Linked DNA regions of Homo sapiens: all the other regions are linked to region 1. The links are contacts of gene promoters, found by promoter capture Hi-C in blood cells and fetal thymus (Javierre and others, 2016). All regions are on one chromosome and are shown on one strand. Each heading gives the region's core, a stretch centred on a gene start or on the middle of the fragment in contact. The rest is flanking DNA. Distances are from core to core; before and after follow the strand shown.

Region 1 (3,374 bases), core at 467-2,966:
CCGTGCATGAGGATGACGTCAGCATTTACACGGCAATGGCGGTTGGCAGAGGCAGTGGCTCAGGCCTGCAATCCCAGCACTTTGGGAGGCCAAGGTGGGTGGATGATTTGAGATCAGGAGTTCGAGACCAGCCTGGTCAACATGGTGAAGCTCCACCTCTACTAAAAATACAAAAATTAGCCGGGCATGGTGGTGGGCGCCTGTAATCCCAGCTACTCGAGAGGCTGAGGTGGGAGAATCACTTGAAGCCGGGAGGTGGAGGTTGCAGCGAGCTGAGATGGCGCCACTGCACTCCAGCCTGAGCGACATAACGAGACGCTGTTTCAAGTAAAAAAAAAAAAAAAAAAAAAAAAACAAAAGAGTTCGAGATCCTACCACAAAAGGTACAAACGAAGGGTGGTGGGAACTCGAATGAGATAGCAGTGTTCACCAGTGCCCAGTAAAGGAAGACTTCACAGAGGGAGCAGGATTTCAGATGGGATTTGAGGAAAAGGGTTTAAGGACTATTAATGACTTATCACTGATTACTCTTAGGGTTTTCAAGCTAAATTTCAGAGTCCTTGTCATGGAATTCAGGCCCTCCACAACTAGGTCAAAGGGAACGCCAAGGAAGAAACATTATCCTGAGTGAGATGCTTATGCTGAAGTCTTTGCTATCAGTTCAGGTTCCAAGGGATCAGAAAACCTTACTTTTCTGTCTCCATAAACCGTAAATGGGTTGAAGGCAGGCACTTTTGTAACACTCCTCTCCCCGGACCAGGCCTCTGTACATCATAGCACTTGGTAGATGCACAGCATACTTTCTGAGCGAAACTAAAACGAATGTAAATCAAGTCACCTGGTGGCCAGACTTGCCTTACACCATCTAAACCTCTGGTGTTAGCTAATTTTAAAGCTATCAAGTAAGAGGCTTAAACACGTGGTCCAGATGCAACATGTGGACCTTGGTTTGGACCCGGATGCCACAAACCAATTGTAAAAGGACATGAGATCATCTGAAAAACCTAAATATGGACTGGGAATTAGATTAAGGAATTGTTAATTTCATTAGATGAGATTACATCGTTATGCCTTTAAAAGTTGTCTCTTAGATATTAAATATATACACTTAGGGTATTTATGAATGAAACGGTTTCCCTTAAAACACTAGAAATGTATGGTGGAGCCAATGAAACAGGTAAAAGGTAGCTAACTGCACTATGGGGAGTAATATACTGCTTCTGCTAAATGTTTCAGAATTCTCATAATATAAAACACAACATACACACACACGCGCCCCCCAGTTTTTTTCATCGTAAGCCCCGAGGGAGCCAGACCCAGAGGGTCCACCGACGTCCCGGATTCTAATAACGACATCTGCGCGCCAGGCGGGCCTCCTGCGGGAGCCGGGGCCCATTTTCTTTCGAAGCTAACGAAGCTGCTGCGCAGGCCTGTTAATTCCCTCAGCAGCCAGTGCGAGGTTAAACACGCGACCTCGCAACCATGGCTTTTGAGAGGAAGCTGAATTCCTGGGGTGCGCCGTGCACAGTTCTTCATTTCCTACGTTGGCCCTGCCCAGCCGCCTGGACCTGGAGGAAAACAGAGAACCTGGCCCACTCTTCAATACTTCGACCCCAGTGGCCGCGCCTCGGGCGCTCGGGGGCGGGCTCTGCACAGCGACGTCACGGCGCACCGTGCGCTGGGTCAAAGTTCAGCCCCGCCCCCGCTTCCCCCTCGCTGTCTCCCTCGGCCTGTGCCGCCGCCGACGCCGCTTGTGGGCCCGACTCCGCTCTGTCTGCTTCGCCACCTTCTCCCCGAGCACTGCCCGGCCGGCCGCCATGGCTAACGTGGCTGACACGAAGCTGTACGACATCCTGGGCGTCCCGCCCGGCGCCAGCGAGAACGAGCTGAAGAAGGTATCTGGGAGCGGGCCGGGCGGGTGTGAGGGGCGCGGGGCCTGCGCGGCCAGGGATGTCTTCTTCAGCCAGGCCGCGCTACTGGGCTGCCCGCGAGCCGGCGCCGGCCGTGACTGGCCCGGGCTGGGAGTCGGCGGCGGCGGCGGGACCGGCCTCGCCGCGAGCCGCGCACTCCGGCCTCGGCTGACCTTGGGGCCGCCGGCCCCGCCCGCCCGCAGATGCAGCAAATAAAACTCACTCCTGCGCAAACACGATGGGAGCCCTTCCTTCCTCCCTCCTTGAACGAGCGCCGGGGGCTGGTATCCCCCGGGAGGCAGCAGCTCGCCCGGTCCTTCGCGTCGAGGTCACCACCCCGGAAAAACAGGTTGGACCGAGGTGCTCAGCGCATCCCGGCCCCGAGAGAGAAGCTGTCCGCCCCGCGGCCGTCGGCCCCGGGTCTGGTGCTCCGCGGGGAGGAACGGCGGGGAGGTCGAGGCCGCCCCCACAGAGCGCCTCGGGCGGATGGGGTTGTTTCCTGGGTTCCGCGGCCGCCGGCTGCGGGAGCTCCTCCCTCTCTGCGTCCCTCGCCCATTGACCCGGAGGTAGCTGGGTCTGTGTTTGGATGCATTGTTCTTTGGGCAGGTAATGCTAATGTCCTGTACCTGCTTAGGAATAAGCCGTGGTCCCAGCCAAACGCCTGAGTGTACAGTAAACATAAATAGAAGGCCTTATTATTGCTATTTGCAATGCTGCGATATCTTTCATCTCAGGATTTCAAAGCACACGAGGCATTTAAGCCCCACAGCATCCTCACCAGGCTAAGAGCATCCAGATTTGTAAGCCGAGAAAAATGAGAATGCTCCTTAGGCAGTGAGAAGAGTACAGTGGACTTCCTGTTACCTTACCGGAAATGCTAGTCTGTATTATATAATTCACGAGCCTCCGTGAATGAAGATTTAAGTGCTTTAGGACCCAAACACCTCGTTGAGAGTGTGTGCAACTTCTCTACCACCGAAGTTGCCACCACGACCCCAGTTAACCACCACGTGCAAATAAAACACCAAAAGACGCTAACTAGGACCACCTTTACTTTTTCATGATGTTACAGTTAGAAGGAAGGCGTGAGCCATCGGGAGCAGGAATTGTGACTTTAGCTTGATTTATAGTAATGTTTTGCAGTCCGCAAAGCTTAACAGTCATTTATCTCGAATTTATTAGGGTCGTCTTGGTCTGGTTACTTGGCCATCAAAGACACTTGACAATAGGGAAAATATGGATAATGTTTGAACGTTTTGTTTTTCCCTGTGGCATTGCTTCATTGTTTTATCTGGTTTTCACGTCACTGTAACCTGTTTTCAAGTATAGCTGCTGTCTACTTGGTTATATTACATTAGTAAACAGTATCGCGAGAAAGTGCCGAAGAATCCCTACGAATAGAAAATATTTTTGAAAGGTTATAACTCTAGAACATTACTTCTCAGAAAAGTGGATATTAAGTTA
Region 2 (3,374 bases), core at 320-2,819, 1.7 Mb before region 1:
TTAAGTATATTCACATTGTTATGAATGTATTTTAATACTTATGTAATTTTTTTTTTTTTTGAGATGGAGTCTTACTCTGTCACCAGGCCGGAGTGCAGTGGCACAATTTCAGCTCACTGCAACCTCCACCTCCCAGGTTCAAGCGATTCTTGTGCCTCAGCCTCCTGAGTAGCTGGGATTATAGGCACCTGGCCACCACACCAAGCTAATTTTTTTTGTACTTTTAGTCGAGACAGGGTTTCACCATGTTGGCCAGGATGGTCTCGATCTCCTGACCTTGTGATCCACCCACCTCAGCCTCCCAAAGTACTAGGATTACAGGCGTGAGCCACCACGCCCAGCCCTGTGTTGCCTATTTAAGAAATCAATTTAAAAATCATTATGCCCTCATGCTACCTGACTTCAAACTATACTACAAGGCTACTGATACCAAAACAGATATATAGACCAATGGAACAGAACAGAGGCCTCAGAAATAACACCACACATCTACAGCCATCTAATCTTCAACAAACCTAACAAAAACAAGCAATGGGGAAAGGATTCCCTATTTAATAAATGGTGCTGGGAAAGCTGGCTAGCCATATGCAGAAAACTGAAACTGGACCCCTTCCTTACACCTTATACAAAAATTAACTCAAGATGGATTAAAGACTTACATGTAAAACCTAAAACCATAAAAACCCTAGAAGAAAACCTAGGCAATACCATTCAGGACATAGGCATGGGCAAAGACTTCATGACTAAAACACCAAAAGCAATGGCAACAAAAGCCAAAATTGACAAATGGGAGCTAATTAAACTAAAGAGCTTCTGCACAGCAAAAGAAACTATCATCAGAATGAACAGGTAACCTACAGCATGGGAGAAAATTTTTGCAATCTATCCATCTGACAAAGGTCTAATATCCATAATCTACAAGGAACTGAAACAAATTTACGAGAAAAAAACAAACAACCCCATTAAAAATTGGATGAAGGATATGAACAGACACTTCTCAAAAGAAGACATTTATGTGGCCAACAAACATATGAAAAAAAGCTCATCATCACTGGTCATTAGAGAAATGCAAATCAAAACCACAATGAGATACCATCTCACGCCAGTTAGAACGGTGATCATTAAAAAGTCAGGAAACAACAGATGCTGGAGAGGATGTGGAGAAATAGGAATGCTTTTACACTGTTGGTGACGGTGTAAATTAGCTCAACCATTGTGGAAGACAGTGTGGCGATTCCTCAAAGATCTAGAACCAGAAATACCATTTGACCCAGCAATCCCATTACCGGGTATACACCCAAAGGATTATAAATCATTCTGTCATAAAGACACATGCACACGTACGTTTATTGCAGCACTATTTACAATAGCAAAAACTTGGAACCAACCCAAATACCCATCAATGATAGACTGGATAAAGAAAACGTGGCATATATACAGCATGTAATACTATGCAGCCATAAAAAAGAGTGTGATCATGTCCTTTGTAGGGACATGGATAAAGTTGGAAACCATCATTCTCAGCAAACTAACACAGGAACAGAAAACCAAACACTGCATGTTCTCACTCATAAGTGAGAGTTGAACAATGAGAACACATGGACACAGGGAGGGGAACATCACACACCGGGGCGTGTCAGAGGATGGGGGGTAAGGGGAGGGAGAGTATTAGGACAAATACTTAATGCATGTGGGGCTTAAAACCTAGATGACAGGTTGATAGGTGCAGCAAACCACCATGGCACATGTATACCTGTGTAACAAACCTTCACGTTCTGCACATGTATCCCAGAACTTAAAGTCAAATTAGAAAAAAAAGAAGAAAAAAAAAATCATTATGCCCAAATACATCATTGATGTCTATTTCAGTTGAGTAAGGAGACTTGTTATACTGGGAAAGAGAAAAAAAGGGGAACATGTACCTTGAAATCATACTGAACTGAATTCAAATCCTGTCCCTGCCATTTACTGGCATTGGAAAAGTCAAGTAAGTTCTCTAAGTCTTTGTCTCCCCATTCTTTTTTTTTTTTTTTTTTTTCAAGACAGGGTCTTGCTCTGTCGCCCAGGCTGAATAGTGCAGTGGCTCAATCTCGGGTCACTGCAGCCTTGACCTCCCCGGCTCCAGCAATCTTCCCATCTCAGCCTCCCGAGTAACTGGGACTACAGGCATGCGCCATGTCTGGCTAGTTTTTGTACTTTTGGTAGAGACAAGGTTTCGCCATGTTACCCAGGCTTCCCCGTTCTTCAAAATGCACATGAAAATGATGTCCATCAAAGCATTCCCGGGAGCATTAAATGAGAATTCTTGTAAAGCAAGGAGCACATAATCTAGCCCAAGAGCGCTGCGAGTTCACAGTGACTCTTTATTTTGCACTGCACTTGGAAGAATGTTGGACAAAGCGCGTGCCTTGGAAGCCAGGGCAGGAGTTCTCAACCTATGGAGCACCAGGAACACCTGGGGTTCCTGTTAAAAATATCCATGCCAAGAGTCCCACCCCAAACCCACTGAGCCAGAATCTAATAGAGGTGGATGGAACCTAAGCTACTGCTACTGTATTTTAACACCCTGCCCCTCTTTTTTTTTTTTTTTTTTTTGAGGTCGAGTCTCGTTCTATCACCCAGGCTGGAGTGCAGTGGCGGATCTCTGCTCACCACAACCTCCGCCTCCCGGGTTCAAGCGATTCTCTTTCCTCAGTCTCCCGGGTAGCTGGGACTACAGGCACGCGCCACCATGCCCTGCTAATTTTTGTATTTTTAGTAGAGACGGGGTTTCACTATGTTGGCCAGGCTGGTCTCGAACTCCTGACCTCGTGATCCGCGCCCCCCCCCCCCCCCGCCCAAGGCCTCCCAAAGTGCGGGGATTACAGGCGTGAGCCACCGCTCCCAGCCCACCCTACCCCTTTAATTCGGGCACATCAAAGCTGAGAACAGCTAGATGGAGATGCCCTGTGTCCTTCGGTGTCACTTCTGGGCCTCCGGAGGTGGCAGGCCCAGGCAGACTGACGTGCTAAGGTTGTCGTTCTAGATGCTGAGAAGTTCTGGAGTCATCACCAGACAGTGTTAAGAAAGAGAGCTTTGGGGAGTAATTTCCCTCATGTGACCTGAGGGCGGGGGTAGGGATGGAGGAAGTCGCCCTCCCCGCTCTGACATCTGATCACCTTCTGTCCACTTGAAGCAGCAAAAAGAGGGTGCAAAGTCCCCGTTGCATTTTACTGAGCTTCTGATGCACTCCCCCACCTCCCCAGCTGCTCTCTCCACATTCGAGGAAGCAGCGCGGGTAGCAGCTGACCCAGTCGCCCCTGGTTGCCTGGAAGTGCCCTTCCAAGCTTTTTTGTCAGAGAGAAAAAACAAAAGCCAAGCTCGGGGCTGTGGGT
Region 3 (3,374 bases), core at 636-3,135, 1.6 Mb before region 1:
TGTTGCAAGTTAGCCTTGGGCATGAGGGGGTAGGGGGTGGTAAGGTTTTTACAGGGACAGGGCAGCTGTGTGGTGGATGTAGGGATTTAGGGGTCGGTTTTAAGCCAGGTGGCAGGAGGGATGGTTAAGTTGTTTGACCTATTGACTGGTGGGGCCACCAGCTCATCAACATTTAAGGAAGACTTCTCTGGTGCCAGGGAGTGTATTGACGGTTGCCCCTTGACCTCAAGAATCACGTTGCCTCTTAGGGGAGACAGACATGGGGAAGATACAGTAAAGTGTGATACATACAACAACTGCAATGTGTGCAAGGTGTTTCTGTAACACAGGAATGGAAGGGTTGCTCTGCCAGCCGGTTTCCTAGGTAGCAGGGAGGTCCTGGCAGAGGGAAGAAGCTGTGTGCAATCACAGGGGCATGGAAGAGGGCAGTTGCATCACAGATTCCTCCAGTGGATCACAAAGTGCTTGGGGCCTGCTGAAGAACATGGATTTTACCTGCAAGTAGTCAGTGGAGAGTCGTGGAAGAGTTAGGGGGACATGAGAAATTTACATTTCCACAAATGCCTCAGTGTTTACACCTCTGGGCTGGGGCTGCTCAGTGTGGTCTGTTGCTGGTTTTCAATAGTAAGAGTACAGAAATTGAAAATAAGGGTTGAGTAACTTTTATGCAATTTGGCATTAATACAGGGGCTAGAGAGGCAATGTCTAAGAGTGAGAAGTCCTTATAAGAGGGCATTGTCCATAGGGGGCCCAGAGAGAGGGGAAAGAAGTCAGTGCTGGAAGACATCTTGGGAGCAAAGGATTGTGAGGATTGAATTTCAGAGACAAAAGGGAGGTACTGGCTAGCTGTTGCCTCATTCGCAAATAGAGATTAAAGTGAAGAAGCAGAGGTGGGACCCTCCCTGTGAAGCAGTGGTGGAAAGGGATGAGGTTGAGGGGATCTCAGCCGTGGGGGTGAGACGAGTTAGAATTCTTCTTTTAGGCCGGGCGCAGTGGCTCACGCCTGTGTAATCCCAACACTTTGGGATGCCGAGTGGTCTGATCACCTGAGGTCGGGAGTTCGAGACCAGCCCACCAACATGGAGAAACCCTGTCTCTACTAAAATTACAAAATTAGCCAGGTGGGGTGGCGCATGCATGTAATCCCAGCTACTCAGGAGGCTGAGGCAGGAGAATTGCTTGAACCAGGGAAGCGGAGGTTGCGGTGAACCAAGATCACGCTATTGCACTCCAGCCTGGGCAACGAGAGCAAAACTCTGTCTTGAGAAAAAAAAAAAAAGAACCCTTCTTTTAGATCAAAGAACCACAAACTCAGAATGCTTCCTGGGACCAGGCAGGGAACCTGTGTAGGGAAGTGGGGTGGTCGGGAAGAGGGACTGTGGTGAATGAAGCCGTGTGGCCCTTTTGGAGAGGGCAGCTTCCCATGCGTATCGCATTAGTCAGTTACATGGTAGGGCTCAGTGATGTCCAGTCTTATTATCTAAGAGAAGCAAGGAATCCAGATTTAATTATATAAAATATTGTATTTAAGTGGTCACTAATTTACATTTTAAAAATCATACACATCGAATTCATCGAATTATATGAATAAAATATTTTTAAACTACATATTTTAAAAAAACAGTTATATGTGCTAAACAAAACATGTCAGTGGACCTGAGCTTTGTTTCGTTTTGTTTTAATTTAGTTTTTGTTTTTGTTTTTTTTTTTACCTTTTTTTGTTTTTTTTTGTTTGTTTGTTTTGTTTTTTTGACCTGAGCTTTGGACTGCCTTTTTGAGACAGGGTCCCTAGGTTGGAGTGCAGTGGTATGATCTCAGCTTACTGAAACCTCTGCCTCCCAGGCTCAAGCGATCCTCTTGGCCTCCTGAGTAGCTGGGACTACAGGCATGTGCCACCATGCCCATGGTGTATTTTTGTATTTTTGGTAGAGATGGCATCTCACTATGCTGCCCTGGCTAATCTTGAATTCCCGAGCTCAAATGATCCTCCCACCTCAGCATCCCAAAGTGCTAGGATTACAGGCATGAGCCACCATGCCTAGCCCATATGTTTCTAATACTTGAAGAGGGCATTTGAAGGCCCCAGTGGCGTACAGTACAGTCTCAGTGCTAGTTCATCCCCAGAGGGAGCGCAAGAGCTCCAAAATAGTGGGATGTGTTAGGTGCAGTGGAACTGCTGCAGACTGAAAACTTAAGAACTTAAAAGGACTGGGATGAAGTAAGGGCCAAGGAAGGTTAGATAGTATGAACTTACAGTGTCACTTGAGCCAGAAACTCTCAAGTAGGTAATGTTTTCCTCCACTCAAGAGGTTTGTGAAGCCAGGACACAAGGATTGGAGGTAAGGGGGTCTGAAGTGCAATAGAGCAAGGCACAGTGGGGCTTAGGAAATATTTCTGAAGAGGTCAGCCTTGTTCAAGCTAGGACAGGGAAACAGATGAGAGCAGAAAGGGCGGAGTGAGCTGCAAGGATTAAGGGAGGGACAAGACCTTTGACCCTGTGCCCTCTGAAACCCAGGGGGTCATGTACACAGGGAAGTTAAGTATTGGAGAATTCTGGAGGTTGTAATCAGAGTAATTTCGGAGCTTAGAATCTTGGATGTAAAGGAATTCTGAGGATGACTCTGAGGGCCAAGGGGTGCCTCAGTAGTTGTGGGTGAGCTACAAGTGTTCCATACATCTTAGAGAAGTGAGAAAGTAGAGGAGATGGCAATGTGAAGTATCTGGAGCTAGTGCTATGCTGGGGTCACCAAAGTCCATAGCAAGAAACTGGGTGCTAACAGTCAGTGAAGCCTGGCTGGTTAACAAATAAAAGAAGTAATTGGAAGTAAATGGCACAGCTACTTGTTTGGCGTCTCCATGAACCTTTAAGGTGTGGAGTTCACTGACCACAGCTGCCCATCAGTTGATGCTTAGCTTCAGGCATTACTTGATGGCAGTGAGTAGCCACCGAGAGGCCTAGCCAGTGCCCTAAACAGTACCAGCCTGGAGGACTTCAAGCAGAGTCCTGGGAAGGACTACTCAGTCTTAAAACATTGACGTTACAGTGCACCCATGAAACTCAGGCAGGCTACCACCCAGTCCATTTTTAATTTGTGAGAAAAAGGGTGTTTAAGAACAGCTAGTAATTGACCTTTTCCCAGTTTTTACTTATGTATTTATGGAGTAAGGTAAGAATGAAAAAAAAATGTAATTAAAGTAGAAGTGGCCTATTACAGTACTGACTTCAGAGGGTTCAAGTTGACCAGGTACTGTTTTACTACCTTTTCAGTTAGAAGAGCCTGGTACCTGGTTTCATGAATTTTTCTATGCGTGTGCGTGCGTGTGTGTGTGTGAGATAGGGTTTGGCTCTGTCACCAGGCTGGAGTGCAGTGGTG
Region 4 (3,374 bases), core at 606-3,105, 1.4 Mb before region 1:
CACTGCAACCTCCACCTCCTGGGTTCAAGTGATTGTCCTGCCTCAGCCTCCCGAGTAGCTGAGATTACAGGCATCCACCACCACACCTGGCTAATTTTTGTAGTTTTAGTAGAGACGAAGTTTCACCATGTTGGCCAGGCTGGTCTCCAAATCCTGACCTCAGGTGATCTGCAGGCATTGGCCTCCTAAAGTGCTGGGATTACAGGCGTGAGCCACCGTGCCCGGCTCTAACTTCTTGAAAAATGTGATGCCTAGCATGTAACCTTTTTCCTAAAGAAACTTGATTATATTGAAGGAAAACTACAGTTATGGGCGAACTCATTTCCCAACCACTTGGGCTTTTGGGAACTTCCTTCAGCTACTTCCTGTTTCATTCTTGGATGCTCATGTTGTGTCTCTAACTTCTCCACCATGTCCAGGAAAATTTGTTTGGGATACTGTTTAACACATTCACCAACCTCAGACAGTGACTGGCAACAGGTGTGTCTGATAAAGAAAACATTGTTTCTGCTCTGCTGTAGGCATGTCTGACAAGTTGGGGACCTGCTTTCCTTTGCAAAGCTTATAGGAGTCTATTTGGGAGGGAGGAACCGCCTTCCAGTTTCCAGGCTGAAAAAGATTCTGTTTCGCTACCAGCAGAGCCAGGCTTGGAAGGGAATGCTAATATGTTTCCAGACCTATCCACCTAAGCTGAATGACAAATGGGTATCAGTGGTTTAATGTAAGAGGAGATAGCTATAGTTTCCTGGGCAAGAGACATCTGTGATTGCCTGGAAACAAACACAGCCCATCGGTGATTCAATAGATGGGTTTGGTCTTGTGAACTGGTCTATTGTAAAATAACTATATTGACATGAAGACACTTGGAAATCATCTGTTCAGTCTTAACTAGTTTAGCCAACTTTGACAGCATTATCTGAGAGGCTGAGGCACAAGAATCGCTTGAACCCAGGAGATGGAGGTTGCAGTGAGCCGAGATTACAAAATAAATAAATAAATAAATATCAATTTAATATAAATTCATAGCAAAACCCCCAAATAAAGATACTCTCATCAGTGCCTGTTTTATTTATTCATTTATTTTTATGTTTTTAGAGATGGAGTGTCCCTCTGTCACCCAGATGGGAGTGCAGGGGCACAATCATAGCTCACTATGGCCTCAAATTCCCAGGTTCAAGCAATCCTCTCATTTTGGCCTCCTGATTAGATGAGATTACAGGCGCACACCACCCTGCCGGGCTAATTTTTAAACTTTTTATAGGGACGGGGTCTTGCTATGTTCTTAGGTTGGTCTGGAACTTCTGGGCCTCAAGCGATCCTCTTGCCTTGGCCTCCCAAAGTGCTGGGATTACAGGTGTGAGCCACCGTGCCTGGCCAGTGCCTGTTTTATTCATAAGAGGAAAGTAATTTACATCACTGGTACCTTAACTACGGGCCAGATGCAGGACCAGAGCGTTATGTTCCATTGCAATAGATGGAATTACCATTTGATGTGATTTGAGGGGACCAGGAAGGCTCCCTATCCAGATGTGGCCTGAAAATATTTGTCACCGTTACTGAAATCCCATCAATTGGAGGATTATTTGGATAGGCTTTACAGTTTACAAAATGCTTTTCTATGGATAAACTGTCAAGGAAGCAGAGTCAACTCCCTGTTCAGAAAAGGTGCTTAGTTACCCCCACAGTGGAGCTATTTTCTTTCAAATGGAAGGTACATTTTTTTGAGAGGGGGAGTAAATTAAATTTATAATGGTGATGTTTATGTCCCACCCATAGCTACCACCCAGAATTAACCAAATCAGATTGAGCCCCGCCCAAATCTAGGTAGGAATTCTCAGAGATGGAATTAACCCGATTAAATTTGTTTTGTATAAAAGGGAAGTGGGGAAAGTAAGAAGTAACTTGGACTCTTCTAGAGGAGAGCAGGCACAAACTAAGCCAAGAAAAGCACGTTTGAGAATTCCAGAGGCAGAAGTTGCTTCTGGGTGCCTGACGTCAACGATCCAGCACTTCAAGACTGGTGTGCGGCATCCTCAGGGGACACTGTGTCCTGGGCACCCCTGCAGTTTAAGAGAATCCACTAGTTTATAAGGTAAGTCCTCGACTGTCAGCAGTGGGCCAGAGACAGACTGTTATTTTCAGATGGACAAATGCTGTTGGGTAGAGGAAGGGATGCGGGATAAGGAGGACAAAATCTGACTTTGGCAAAGCCGGGTGTTTAGAACTTTAATCGCCACGTTGGCAAGTTCTCTCTTAGTCCGTATCCATTTCACTGCTTGCAGAGCGGCCCAGGGGTTCTGGGGGCGAGAAACACATCTCACCCCAGAGCTGCTCCTCGCCCAGGACAGAACTCCTCTGCCCTTCACGACCAGGTCAAGGCCACATGGCTATGCCAAGCACATAGTCTGTAAAAATGGAAAATTTACCTCTAAACTGAAGTGAACCGAACTCTATTGACCTTCCCGTGTACTGAGGAGCTATAACTTCTCCCCAAAAATGTGAAAGTAAAATTGCAGTTTAAATCATGTAATTAGGAATACTGTAAACTAGTGTTTTGCACATATAAACTTTATCATACACTGGGAATTTGTACATACGTGCCCGGTATGGGATTTTTCTATTTTTATTTTTATTTTTTTGAGACAGAGTCTCGCTCTGTTGTCCAGGCTGGAGTGCAATGGCCTGATCTCTGCCTCACTGCAACCTCTGCCTCCCGGGTTCAAGCGATTCTCCTGCCTCAGCCTCCGAGTAGCTGGGACTACAGGCGTGCACCACCACGCCCGGCTAATTTTTGTATTTTTAGTAGAGATAGGGTTTCACCATGTTGGCCAGGCTACTCTCGAACTCCTGACCTCAGGTAATCCATCGGCCTCGGCCTCCCTAAGTGCTGGGATTACAGGCGTGAGCCACCGCGTCCGGACGGAATACCATTTTAATAGATCTTACATGGAATTCCAGTTAGGGCTTGTAAATGTCTCAGATGCTTGCTTCTGCTCATAGCACCCATCAAAGAATTGCAAGTGATGTTTTCCTTTTATTATTTCAAGAAGTGGAATGCAGAGTCCCTAATTAGGGACTTTCCAGATGAGCATGGACACAGGAAAACGCGTGCTTCCCCATTACCCACTTTTCAGCTGAAACAAGCTTTTGAAGCTCGTCCCGCTGTTGCTGAGGAGCGGCTCAACCTCGGGAGAGGCTGGGACTCTCTTTAGGGGTGGGGTCCCGGTCGGCGGGCAGGGCAGCCGCTTTTTCTTTGGGACTGAGTGGAGTTGGGAAGGATCCGTGGAGGCGCTGGGCTAAATCAGCAGACAAAACAAGGGGGAGGGCACAAGGCCGCGGCGGCGGCCAGCCTGGGGCTCGCATCCCGCTGGGCG
Region 5 (3,374 bases), core at 297-2,796, 1.4 Mb before region 1:
GGCCAGTTTGGTGTGTTAATTTTTGGGGAACAGTTTTTCCTTTGTGAGTAATTTTTATTGTAATATGTATGATTTTAAGACCCACCTTTCTGCAAACTTCAAACGTATGTAAGTGGCTGTAGATAGCTTAGCTCACCAAAATAATAGTGTGCTGCCTCCAACCCCCAAAAGCTCTTCATATTTAGAAACATCTGCAGTGATTCTACTAATGGTAGAATTCTATTTCATTCACACTCCTGATTAGAAGAATTGGTAAGTAATCCAAATTAAGAAAATAATGGATCAAATCCAACATACCTGGGGGGTCAGTCTGTGACTGCTGCATTAGAATGGACATAAAAGTAATGTCGAAACTCGACAGGGTGAATAGTGTGTGTGAACTACCACGCAGGACTGTGGTATTTGTGTAGGTTAAACATGAAAGGTACAGATAGAGTGTTACAGAGACCCGGAGTTTGAAGCTTTGTCATTCCCCTCCCCACTCATCCAGTGTGCATGTTCAAAGCACAAAGGAGTATTTGGTAGTTTACTGCTTATGATCCTAACCTGAATTTACCAAAAGAAACGTACGTTTATCTAAAAATGGCACCATCCAAACAAAATTCCTTATCAAGCATCTACTAAGATTTGGTGGCAAACAGTGTGGGTTGTAGATTCTAACTGCCTGGGTTGACTTCTGACTCTGTATCTACCAGTTTTTATTTAAATACCTTCTCTGCCTGGTCCCTCCTCCACAAAAGGGTATGATGTCCACTGCGTAAGGGAATGAGGAAGGCTAGATGTGCTATAAAGTGCTTATTATGCCTGACTTGATACCCCAGTGTCTTGCTGAACCAAATATTTTCGCTATCCTTATATAGCTCTAGAAACTTGACAAAGAAATACACTTTATTATCATAGATGTAATTTTCTTAGGCCTTTCTGAATTCTGAAAATAATAACAGGTTTACAGATATAAATAATGGAGCAAAAGGACACCTGGTTTTGGGGTCACATTTTGACAGGCTTGCACTGTCATGTCAGGATGAGGATTTAGCCTCAAGAGTTTGTATTGCCTAGAAATGTGCTGACAGTGTCATTAAGTACAAACTACAGTATTTCCAAAGAAATGAATTTTCATGACAAAGCTTTTCCTAAAATTGTTTTAGAAGTCCTTTTGCTGTAACTTTTAAAACATCTCAATGACCACTCACCATATTTGCCTGTTGTCTATTCAGACCTTTTTGATATTTCCTTCCTCTTTCAGCATTTTTGTTTTTTAAGTGCAGTTTTCATTGTGGTATCCACCAAATGTTTGTAAAACAAACAAAAAAAATGAGCATTAGTGTTGGACCATAAATCATCAAATTGGATAATGACTAACTGTAGTCTTTTTTTTTTTTTTTTTTTTTAGCTGCTGGATACAATTTTCATGGCAATAGGAACTGAAGTACTTCAAATAATGTGAGCTTAAACATGTTACTTCATTGAAACAACCAAAACTACTTGATGTTTACATCTAAAATCCTGGTTAAAATAAATTTTAGATTTGGAAAGGGAATTGGCAAAACTAACATTCTTTGTAGCAAAATGTCCCTTAGTAATAGTCAAGTTGACCTCATTTCAGTAGTTCATAAAGGAAAATCCAAAGCCCTCAGCAGTGAATTACCTGGCCACATAGCTGATTTTGGTCACTGTGAATGCAGACCAATCACCTAGTACTGGAAGCTCACAGTGGTAGACATCACTATCACAGTACTTTACGGTCATGGATTTCTCGTGAACTATTTCAGGAACAATCACAAAGATGACATTCTTCACTGTATTTGCATTTGTAACCACCAAGCAAGTAAGGATCTCTGCCCCAGATGCATGGTTTGAGGTAAGGTTCACAGGGACCACTAAAGGGGCAGAGCCAAGTAAAAACATGGATGTCTCCAGTGGACAGTGTAGGATTTCTTGATAAGCAAAGCACCTAAAGCTTTTAGTTTTAATACTTGAGAAGTTTTAAAAACCCATGCATAAAACGTGGAATACCGGTAAAATACACATATCCCTAAGTCTAGTTTAAACTAAAATTTCTAGAGTTAATAATTTTCAATAAAAAAATCCAGCTTATTTTGATACAAGGGGTCTTTGGGTAACATCTTAAAAATCAATGCTAGAAAATGCTCAACATCACTAGTCATTAGGGACATAGAATCAAAATACGTCACACCCATTTGGAGGGCTATTATAAAAAACCCAGAAAATGAGTGCTGGCAAGGATGTGGAGAAACTGGAACATTTGTGCATTGCTGGAAGGAATGTCAAATGGTGCAGCTGCGGTGGAAAAGTTTGGCAGTTCTCAAAAAGTTAAACAGAATTATCCTGTTGTCTTAGTCATTTGTGTTAACCGTAACAGAATACCTGAGACTGGGTAATTTAAAAGTACGAATTTATTTCTCATAGTTGTGAAGACTGAGAAGCCCACGATCAGCGTGCTGGCAGACTGGTATCATCTATTGAGGGCCCAGTCTCAGCTTCTAGGACGGGGCCTGTTGCTGTGTCCTCATATGGTGGAAGGGAATCGAAGGGCAAAAAGGAGGTAATTGGTTCCCTTGAGCCCCTTTATAAAGGCACTAAATCCATTAATGAGGATGGAGCTCTCATGACATAATCACCTCCTAAAGCCTCACCTATCACGTTGGTGGTTGCTTCAACATACGAATTTGGTGGGGGGACATTCAGACCTTAGCATATGTGATCTAGTAGTTCTGCTCCTGGATATGTATCCCTAAAGGACCTAAGAAGGGACTTCAAGAGAGATGTGTACACCCATGTTCATAGCATTACTCATAATACCCAAGAGGGGGAAACAATCAGCAGATGAGTGGATAAACCAAATGCGGTCTATGGATATAGTGGTGTATTATTTGGCCATAAAAATTTCTGGTACTTGCTACCACATGGCTTTTTCCCAGGGAAAGTATTAGTTTTTGTTTGACAAAACACCTTGATAGGTCATGGTTCTGCAAGGCAGAGATGTGAAACAAAGAAAGCTAACTGTTGCAAATAATAAAAAGTTGGAGTTCCTTTGAGCTAAAGCTAAAGTGGCAAAGGAGGAAGAGGTTCATCCCTACCCTTCTGCACCCCATTATTTTGAAGAAAAAGAGTGGCCTGACCCTCCAGATCTTTCTTTTCTGGAGGACACTGGGCGAAAAGTAGTTGCCCCAGTGACTGTTCGAGCAGTTGATGGCTTGCTAAGTAAGAATGCTAAACACAAAAGGACAACTCTTGTTTGATCCCACTCATATGAAGGGAAATTCAGAAAGAAAGTGAAATAGTGGTTACCAGGGTCTGGGGTGAGGGTGGAATTTGGAGCTCTTTTTCAGTGGGTACAGAGTTTCAGTTTG
Region 6 (3,374 bases), core at 439-2,938, 1.4 Mb before region 1:
CTTTTGGACTAAAATAGTGGTTCTTAACAAATGGTTAATACTCCTATAAAAGAAACTATTATTTCACTGAGAAGCAAAGAAATTCAAATTATAAAAACAAGCCGGTTACCAAAATAACTAGTAAAGTTTAAGAAATGACAAAGGTCAATGTTAAAAAAAGTAAAGAGATCTTCTCAAACACTGTTGCTTACAGAAGTATAAACTGGTTCAATCTTTCAGGAAAGCAATATGGAAATAGACTGAAAGCCTTCCAAATATTTACAGTCTCACACTCAGTGGTTCTTTTTTGCAGCAATCTATCCTTAGGGAAATACACAAAAGTACAGGCAAGGGTTTGTGCACAGTCACCCATCGCAGCACTACAAATAACAGCAAAACTTAGATCCAATATAAGTACCCAACATTAGGAACATGGTTAAGTAAACCATGGCATATCTAACTGGTAAAATACTACAGTCACTAAAAATGGTTTCCTAAGTGTTTTCAAGTAATGTGAGAAAATTCTTTCAAAACAACGTTAAACTGAGGAAAGGGGAGGATATAACATTTCACACAGGGTGATTTTTACATACACAGTAGTCACCCCTTCTCCACAGGCGATACATTTCCAGACCCACGGTGGATACCTGAAATGCAGGATGGTTCAGAACCCTATATATACCATTTTTTCCCTATAGATATGTACTTATGATCATGTTTAATTTATAAATTAAGCAAAGTAAGAGATTTACAACAATACTAATAAAATAAACCCAGAATGCCAGCATCACTGCTCTTGGCTTTGGGTCCATTATTAAGTAAAGGAAGGGTTACTTGAACACAAACACCCTGAAACCAAGACAGTTGATCTGGTAAGTGAGATGGCTGCTGAGTGGCTAAAGGGGCGGGAGTCATACAGCATGGATATGCTGGACAAAGAGAGGCTTCCTGTCCAGGGTCACACAGAGCAGGATGGCTCGACATTTCATCACACTGCCCAGAATAGTGCACAATTTAAAACTTACGAGTGGATTATTTCTAGAATTTTCCAGTTAATATTTTTGGACGATGGTTGACCACAGGTAACTAAAACTGCAGAAAGTGAAGCTGCAGGTGAGGGGGAAGCTACAGTGTCTTTATCATATGAATGAAATGATATAGTCCAAAATGGTAAAAGAGTTATGCCCTGAGTTATGAGATTAACATTACATGAGATATTAAAAATAAATCATTGTCTCCAGTCCTGACTCAGATTACCACCTAGTGGCCTAGAACAAGGTGACTTTACCTCTTTGTATCTGGTTTTCTAATCAGCAAAACCAGAATTACAGTACTCTCAGAGAGCTGCTGGGAGAATTTGGTAATGGTCAAAAGCCTTAATATGTATAGATGAGAGATACTGAATTATATACTGGCTCCCGCTCCCCCCACCGCCCCTCCCCCCCTTTTTTTTTTGAGACAGAGGCTGGAGCGTAGTGGTGTGATCTCAGCTCACTGCAACCTCTGCCGTCTGTGTTCATGCGATTCTCATGCCTCAGCCTCCCAAGTAGCTGGGATTACAGGTGTGTACCACCACACCTGGCCAATTTTTTTTTTTTTTTTTTTTGAGACGGAGTCCCCGTGTCACCCAGGCTAGAGGGCAATGGTGTGATCTCGGCTCACTGCAACTTCCACCTCCTGGGTTCAAGTGATTCTCCTGCCTCAGCCTCCTGAGAAGCTGAGATTACAGGCACACGTCACCATGCCTGGCTAATTTTTGTATTTTTAGTAGAGACGGGGTTTCACCATGTTGGTCAGGCTAGTCTCGAACTCCTGATATCGTGATCCACCCGCCACGGCCTCTCAAAGTGCTGGGATTACAGGTGTGAGCCACTGCGCCCGGCCCAATTTTTGTATTTTTAGTAGAGACGGGGTTTCACCATGTTGGTCAGGCTAGTCTCGAACTCCTGATATCGTGATTCACCCGCCACAGCCTCTCAAAGTGCTGGGATTACAGGTGTGAACCACCGCGCCCGGCCCAATTTTTGTATTTTTAGTAGAGACGGGGTTTCACTATGTTGGCCAGGTTGGTCTTGAACTCCTGGCCTCAGGTCCTCCTGCCTTGGCCTCTCAAAGTGTTGGGATTACAGGAGTGAGCCACTGTACCTGGCCTTTTTTTCATTCTTAGTTTTCCTTTAGCAAATTCTCCCAGATCCTGATGGCTCCCTTTTTAGAGTAATATTTACTATACAGATTTCTATGACTCACATATTCTCACCCCAAACCCTTCAATTACAAGAAAACAAAGTGCTCTCTACAATCTCATTCTACCCAGCATCCCACAGACAGGGCTCTGACCACAATCACACAACGGTTGGGAATCACATACATTAAATATGCATAAGAAAAAAAGAAAAAGATACAAAGACTGAAGACTCTGCTCTATGCTATACTATATATCACTATTATATTTCATATAAGTGCTCCCTATTAAAATCTTCTTTACAAACTATTTTGAAGCATATTCTTAAAAGTAATAAAGTGAGGCTGGGCGTGGTGGTTCACACCTATAATCCCAGCACTTTGGGAGGCTGAGGCGGGCAGATCACCTGAGGTGAGGAGTTCGAGACCAGCCTGGCCAACATGGTGAAACCCCATCTCTAATGAAAACACAAAAATTAGCCGGACCTGGTGGCAGGTGCCTGTAATCCCAGCTACTTGAGAGGCTAACACATGAGAATCGCTTGAACCCGGGAAGTGGAGGTTGCAGTGAGCCGAGATCATGCCACTGCACTCCAACCTGGGCGACAACGTGAGATTCCATCCCAAAAAAACAAAACAAAACAAAAAAACTAAGTAATAAAGTGCTGTTAAACAGAGGTTGAAAAGGCCACAGAAATATAAAATGAGTAGAATAAGCTAGCTCTGCTTCATCCCACTTCGACTATTTTCCCACTTAAAAGAAATAAAATCGGTCTGAAAATGGGAGGGGGCTAGTGTTTTCTAGTTGATTTAATCTATGCAGAGGTATATCCCAGCTCTTCTTTACTAGGTATTATTGGCCTATTAATACCTTTAATAGGTATTATCTATGTCTGATTCAGAACATTGCCAAGATAGTTGGGGCATAACCACGGAGTTTCCCAGCATTAAAGCAGCAGAGATGCACACAGCACGGGGGCAGAACCAGCAATGCACTCACAGCATGGACTGTGGTGATGGCTGTGAGCCAAGTGAGAGTGAAATGCGGTGTACCCCCGAAGGGGGCTAAGCCATCCTCTAGAGCTGATGGAAGCACAGCTATTATGGAGGGAAGTCCTATAGGGACAGACTCCTCTGGGGAAGGACCAGGCTTTTCCTAAGCAAGCAGCTATCACTTGGACACAGTCAACTGTTCTTCTCTATTCATTTTCCCT
Region 7 (3,374 bases), core at 502-3,001, 1.3 Mb before region 1:
GTTTCCTTTGACATTGAATTCCTCTGAATTTATTAGAAGTTCTAAAATATATCATCTAAATCTTAAACACAATTTTCAAAATGTGTTACCTAATAAACTCATTTATTTCATCCTCTACCTTCTGTTATATCAGACAAGAATAAAAAGACCTAGGCTCAGTTGCTTGAGATCACAGCACAAAGGAAGTGTTGTTAAGAATAAAAAGGGGAAATTCAGGAGCATCTAGATCTAGGTCTTAACTTTTATAGACTTCAGTTCTCCACTGTCACTGTCATCTACACAAGTGATTTCCACCCTTGATAGGTACTCCCTCACCTAGGACATTTTTTTTAAATTCAAATTTCTATAAATGGTAGTCTGAGCATGCGTTTTTACTTCCTGTCTGAATAGTATTAAAATGACAATTAAGAAATAAAAAATATATAAACCCACAAGAACAAAAATAATGACAAAGAGGACATCAGCTGACAAGAGATGCTGACAAAATTTTGGGAAACAAAAAGTACATGGACAAAAAGTAACCAACACTTAACAGGCTAGAGAAAGCAGAAACCTCAACATTTGTGGGGCTAGAGATAGAGAACAACAAGTTGATGTGGGTCCTAAAAGTCTACAAAAGCTAAAGAATTCAAGGTAGCCCTGAAAGCATGGATGAAGAGTGGGACAAAAGGCAAAAGTTTTCTAGATTCTCCCAAGGCAGAGTAAAAATAAAAAATAAAAATAAAGCCAGGCGCAGTGGCTCACACCTGTAATCCCAGCACTTTGGCAGGCTAAGGTGGGCAGATCACCTGAGGTTAGCAGTTGAAGACCAGCCTGGCCAACATGGTGAAACCCTGTCTCTACTAAAAATACAAAAATTAGCCGGGCGTGGTGGCATCCGTCTACAGTACCAGCTACTGGGGAGGCTGAGGCAGGAGAATCACTTGAACCTCGGAGACGGAGGTTGCAGTGAGCCAAGATTGTGCCACCGCAGTCCAGCCTGGACGACAGAGCGAGACTCCATCTCAAAAAGTAAAATAAAATAAAAATAATAAAAATAAAGCACAAGTTTTAAAGTCTGGATAAAATACAATTAGAACTCACTACCTCTACTCCTACTCCACATAATGAAGGCACTGCCTCCCTCCAATCCAACAGAAGATAGGAGCTTCGCTCTCTGGAGAAAATGAACCAGTGAGGTTCCAGGCGTGGGGAGGCAGGGGTGAAGCACTGTACTGGCCACAGAAGGATTCTGTGAAAGCTGACTCTGATGCTACTGCTGTAAAATGCACTGTGTTCAGCGACTGATGGAAAAACAAGAAAGACATTTGGCTGTGTCTGTTCAACTGGGTCCACCATAAATTATGGTTCTTTAATCACAGTCATCCAACTCCTTTCTGGAAACAGCTATGGAAATGATAGAAAAATCTAATAAATCTCTTTACTATGAAAGAAATTGTCAATTCCCTACAACTCATGTTTGTTAAAGCAAGTTTTGGCAAACTGCATAACAGCATGATATGATGAACTGAGACCCCTTACAGTTTTGGGGCAAGAAATTAAAACATTTTATTTTATTTACTTATTTATTTTTTTGAGATGGAGTCTCGCTCCGTTGCCCAGATGGAGTGCAGTGGGCATGACCTTTGCTCACTGCAACCTCTGACTTTTGGGCTCAAGCGATTCTCCTGCCTCAACCTCCAGAGTAGCGGGGACTACAGGCGCCCAACACCACGCCTGGCTAATTTTTGTATTTTTAGTAGAGACGGGGTTTCACCGTGTTGGCTAGGCTGGTCTCAAACTCCTGACCTCAAGTCATCTGCCTGCCTCAACCTTCCAAAGTGCTGGGATCAAAGGCATGAGCCACTGTGCCTGGCCAGTTAAAACATTTTAAGTAGATACCAAAGGAACATCCACATTTGATTAATTCCAGTAATAGAACACCTTCACAATAATTTTTTAAAGAATAATTTAAATTACATTTAGTTGTTTATCCATAAAAGAAAATGTGTGAAAAATTATTACACATGGAGCTATTCCAGAGTACAAAGGTCTGTCCTTGCAGTACCTGAACAGCATGGATTGTCTTATGTTGTAAAAACTTTTTATGTTATAAATTATTTAAAGACTTAACTGTCTGGGTCAGAAAGAAATAAGATAACACCAGAACCCATACATAACGTACACCATCATTATACATCTGGAGAAAGTTACTGTGATGGTTAATAGTGAGTTTCAACTTTGGATTGAAGGATGCAAAGTATTGTTCCAGTGTGTCTGTGAGGATATAGTCAAAGGAGATTAACATTTGAGTCAGCGGACTAGGAGAGGCAGACCCACCCTCAATCTGAGTGGGCACCATCTAATCAGCTTCCAGCATGGCTAGAATAAAGCAGAGAAAAGAAGCTGGAAGGATCAGACTTGCTGAATCTTCTGGCCTTCAGCTTTCTCCCGTGCTGGATGCTTCTTGCCCTCGAATATTGGACTCGAAGTTCTTCAACTTTTGGACTCTTGAACGTACGCCAGTGGTTTGCTGGGGGCTCTTGGGGCTTCGGCCACAGACTGAAGGCTGTACTGTCGGCTTCCCTACTTTTGAGATTTTGGAACTTGGACTGGCTTCCTTGCTCCTCGGCCTGCAGATGGCCTATTGTGGGACTTCACCATGTGATTGTGTGAGTTAATACTCCTTAAACTCTTCTTCATATACACATCTATCCTATTAGTCTTGTCCCTCTAGTGAACCCTAATACAGTTCCTATATCCTCAAAGCATTCATATTATTATTCCAGTTAAAACTGTGCTATTTGTAAAAGACAATCCTCTGGATGAAATATGTTGAAACATTAAGGTATTACTTACTGGATGCATTTAACAGTGGAGTCATGTGTGCCACTGCTCCAAGGACTACCCAACACCTTCCCCTCCATACCCAACCTTCTTCTGTCACTCACTCCTAGCCACCAGGCCTGAGAATGCCAGAACAAGGTCACCAACCTTCTCTCTCAGTCACATCAGAACGGTCCAACTTGGCTTCCTTATGCTGTCCTTCTGCCACCTTCACGGCCACAGCTCGGCAAATGGCCCCAAGTTTTCTATCCAGAGAACGAACCCCTGCCTCTCTGGTATACCTGTCATCAAACAAAAATATTTTATTTTTGACTATATACCACTTAAAAAAATAGAGAGGTAATGTGATTAACATTTTTGGTAAAACAGTGTACATTTAAAAGTTCATTACCCTTTCTTGAGTACTAACTTTTCCACACTTAAAACTCCTCATTATTGTTATTTCTTCAATACTTTGATCTATTTTCAGCTACAACAATTTCCTTTATACAGATTATCTTGAATTATAATCCTACACTTAAAAATGAACCCTAGTTCTAGTTCAATTT

What was found. Contacts are between HindIII fragments. The CHiCAGO score rates a contact against its expected background, and 5 or more counts as called.
Region 2: a contact is called between a fragment that was not itself captured here and the fragment with the promoter of DNAJA2 in region 1, in 1 of 17 cell types (fetal thymus). The highest score is 7.1, in fetal thymus.
Region 3: a contact is called between a fragment that was not itself captured here and the fragment with the promoter of DNAJA2 in region 1, in 1 of 17 cell types (activated CD4 T cells). The highest score is 8.7, in activated CD4 T cells.
Region 4: a contact is called between a fragment that was not itself captured here and the fragment with the promoter of DNAJA2 in region 1, in 5 of 17 cell types (fetal thymus, total CD8 T cells, naive CD8 T cells and 2 more). The highest score is 16.5, in fetal thymus.
Region 5: a contact is called between a fragment that was not itself captured here and the fragment with the promoter of DNAJA2 in region 1, in 2 of 17 cell types (total CD8 T cells and naive CD8 T cells). The highest score is 5.6, in total CD8 T cells.
Region 6: a fragment that was not itself captured here is called in contact with the fragment with the promoter of DNAJA2 in region 1 in 1 of 17 cell types (naive CD8 T cells); the score reaches 7.8 in naive CD8 T cells.
Region 7: a fragment that was not itself captured here is called in contact with the fragment with the promoter of DNAJA2 in region 1 in 2 of 17 cell types (naive CD8 T cells and non-activated CD4 T cells); the score reaches 6.5 in naive CD8 T cells.

Annotation. Positions count from the first base shown.
Region 1 is chr16:46,972,016-46,975,389 of GRCh38, reverse strand. DNAJA2 (DnaJ heat shock protein family (Hsp40) member A2) reads left to right here and starts at 1,716. Exons shown (of 9, transcript NM_005880.4): 1 at 1,716-1,895. The coding sequence starts at 1,818. DNAJA2-DT (DNAJA2 divergent transcript) reads right to left here and starts at 1,618. Exons shown (of 2, transcript NR_186372.1): 1 at 1,265-1,618. RefSeq lists enhancers at 1,305-1,394, 1,455-1,524 and silencers at 1,955-2,004, 2,035-2,114, 2,265-2,314, 2,345-2,414, 2,765-2,844. The HindIII fragment of the contact is 5,496 bases long and covers 1-3,064 here.
Region 2 is chr16:48,623,610-48,626,983 of GRCh38, reverse strand. The region is part of intron 1 of LOC105371240 (a long non-coding RNA gene); the gene reads right to left. Among named protein-coding and RNA genes, the nearest start is that of N4BP1, 15 kb to the right of the region's middle. The HindIII fragment of the contact is 3,519 bases long and covers 1-3,328 here.
Region 3 is chr16:48,602,939-48,606,312 of GRCh38, reverse strand. The region is part of intron 1 of N4BP1 (NEDD4 binding protein 1); the gene reads left to right. Among named protein-coding and RNA genes, the nearest start is that of N4BP1, 5.6 kb to the left of the region's middle. The HindIII fragment of the contact is 6,554 bases long and covers 1-3,374 here.
Region 4 is chr16:48,385,772-48,389,145 of GRCh38, reverse strand. It overlaps a transcript of SIAH1 not described here. Among named protein-coding and RNA genes, the nearest start is that of SIAH1, 2.0 kb to the right of the region's middle. RefSeq lists a silencer at 3,305-3,374. The HindIII fragment of the contact is 2,583 bases long and covers 564-3,146 here.
Region 5 is chr16:48,354,530-48,357,903 of GRCh38, reverse strand. LONP2 (lon peptidase 2, peroxisomal) reads right to left here. Exons shown (of 15, transcript NM_031490.5): 15 at 555-3,374. Among named protein-coding and RNA genes, the nearest start is that of SIAH1, 29 kb to the left of the region's middle. The HindIII fragment of the contact is 833 bases long and covers 1,130-1,962 here.
Region 6 is chr16:48,326,887-48,330,260 of GRCh38, reverse strand. All of the region lies in intron 11 of LONP2 (lon peptidase 2, peroxisomal), which reads right to left. Among named protein-coding and RNA genes, the nearest start is that of SIAH1, 57 kb to the left of the region's middle. The HindIII fragment of the contact is 4,980 bases long and covers 1-3,374 here.
Region 7 is chr16:48,302,905-48,306,278 of GRCh38, reverse strand. LONP2 (lon peptidase 2, peroxisomal) reads right to left here. Exons shown (of 15, transcript NM_031490.5): 11 at 2,974-3,107. Among named protein-coding and RNA genes, the nearest start is that of ABCC11, 57 kb to the right of the region's middle. The HindIII fragment of the contact is 4,768 bases long and covers 1-3,374 here.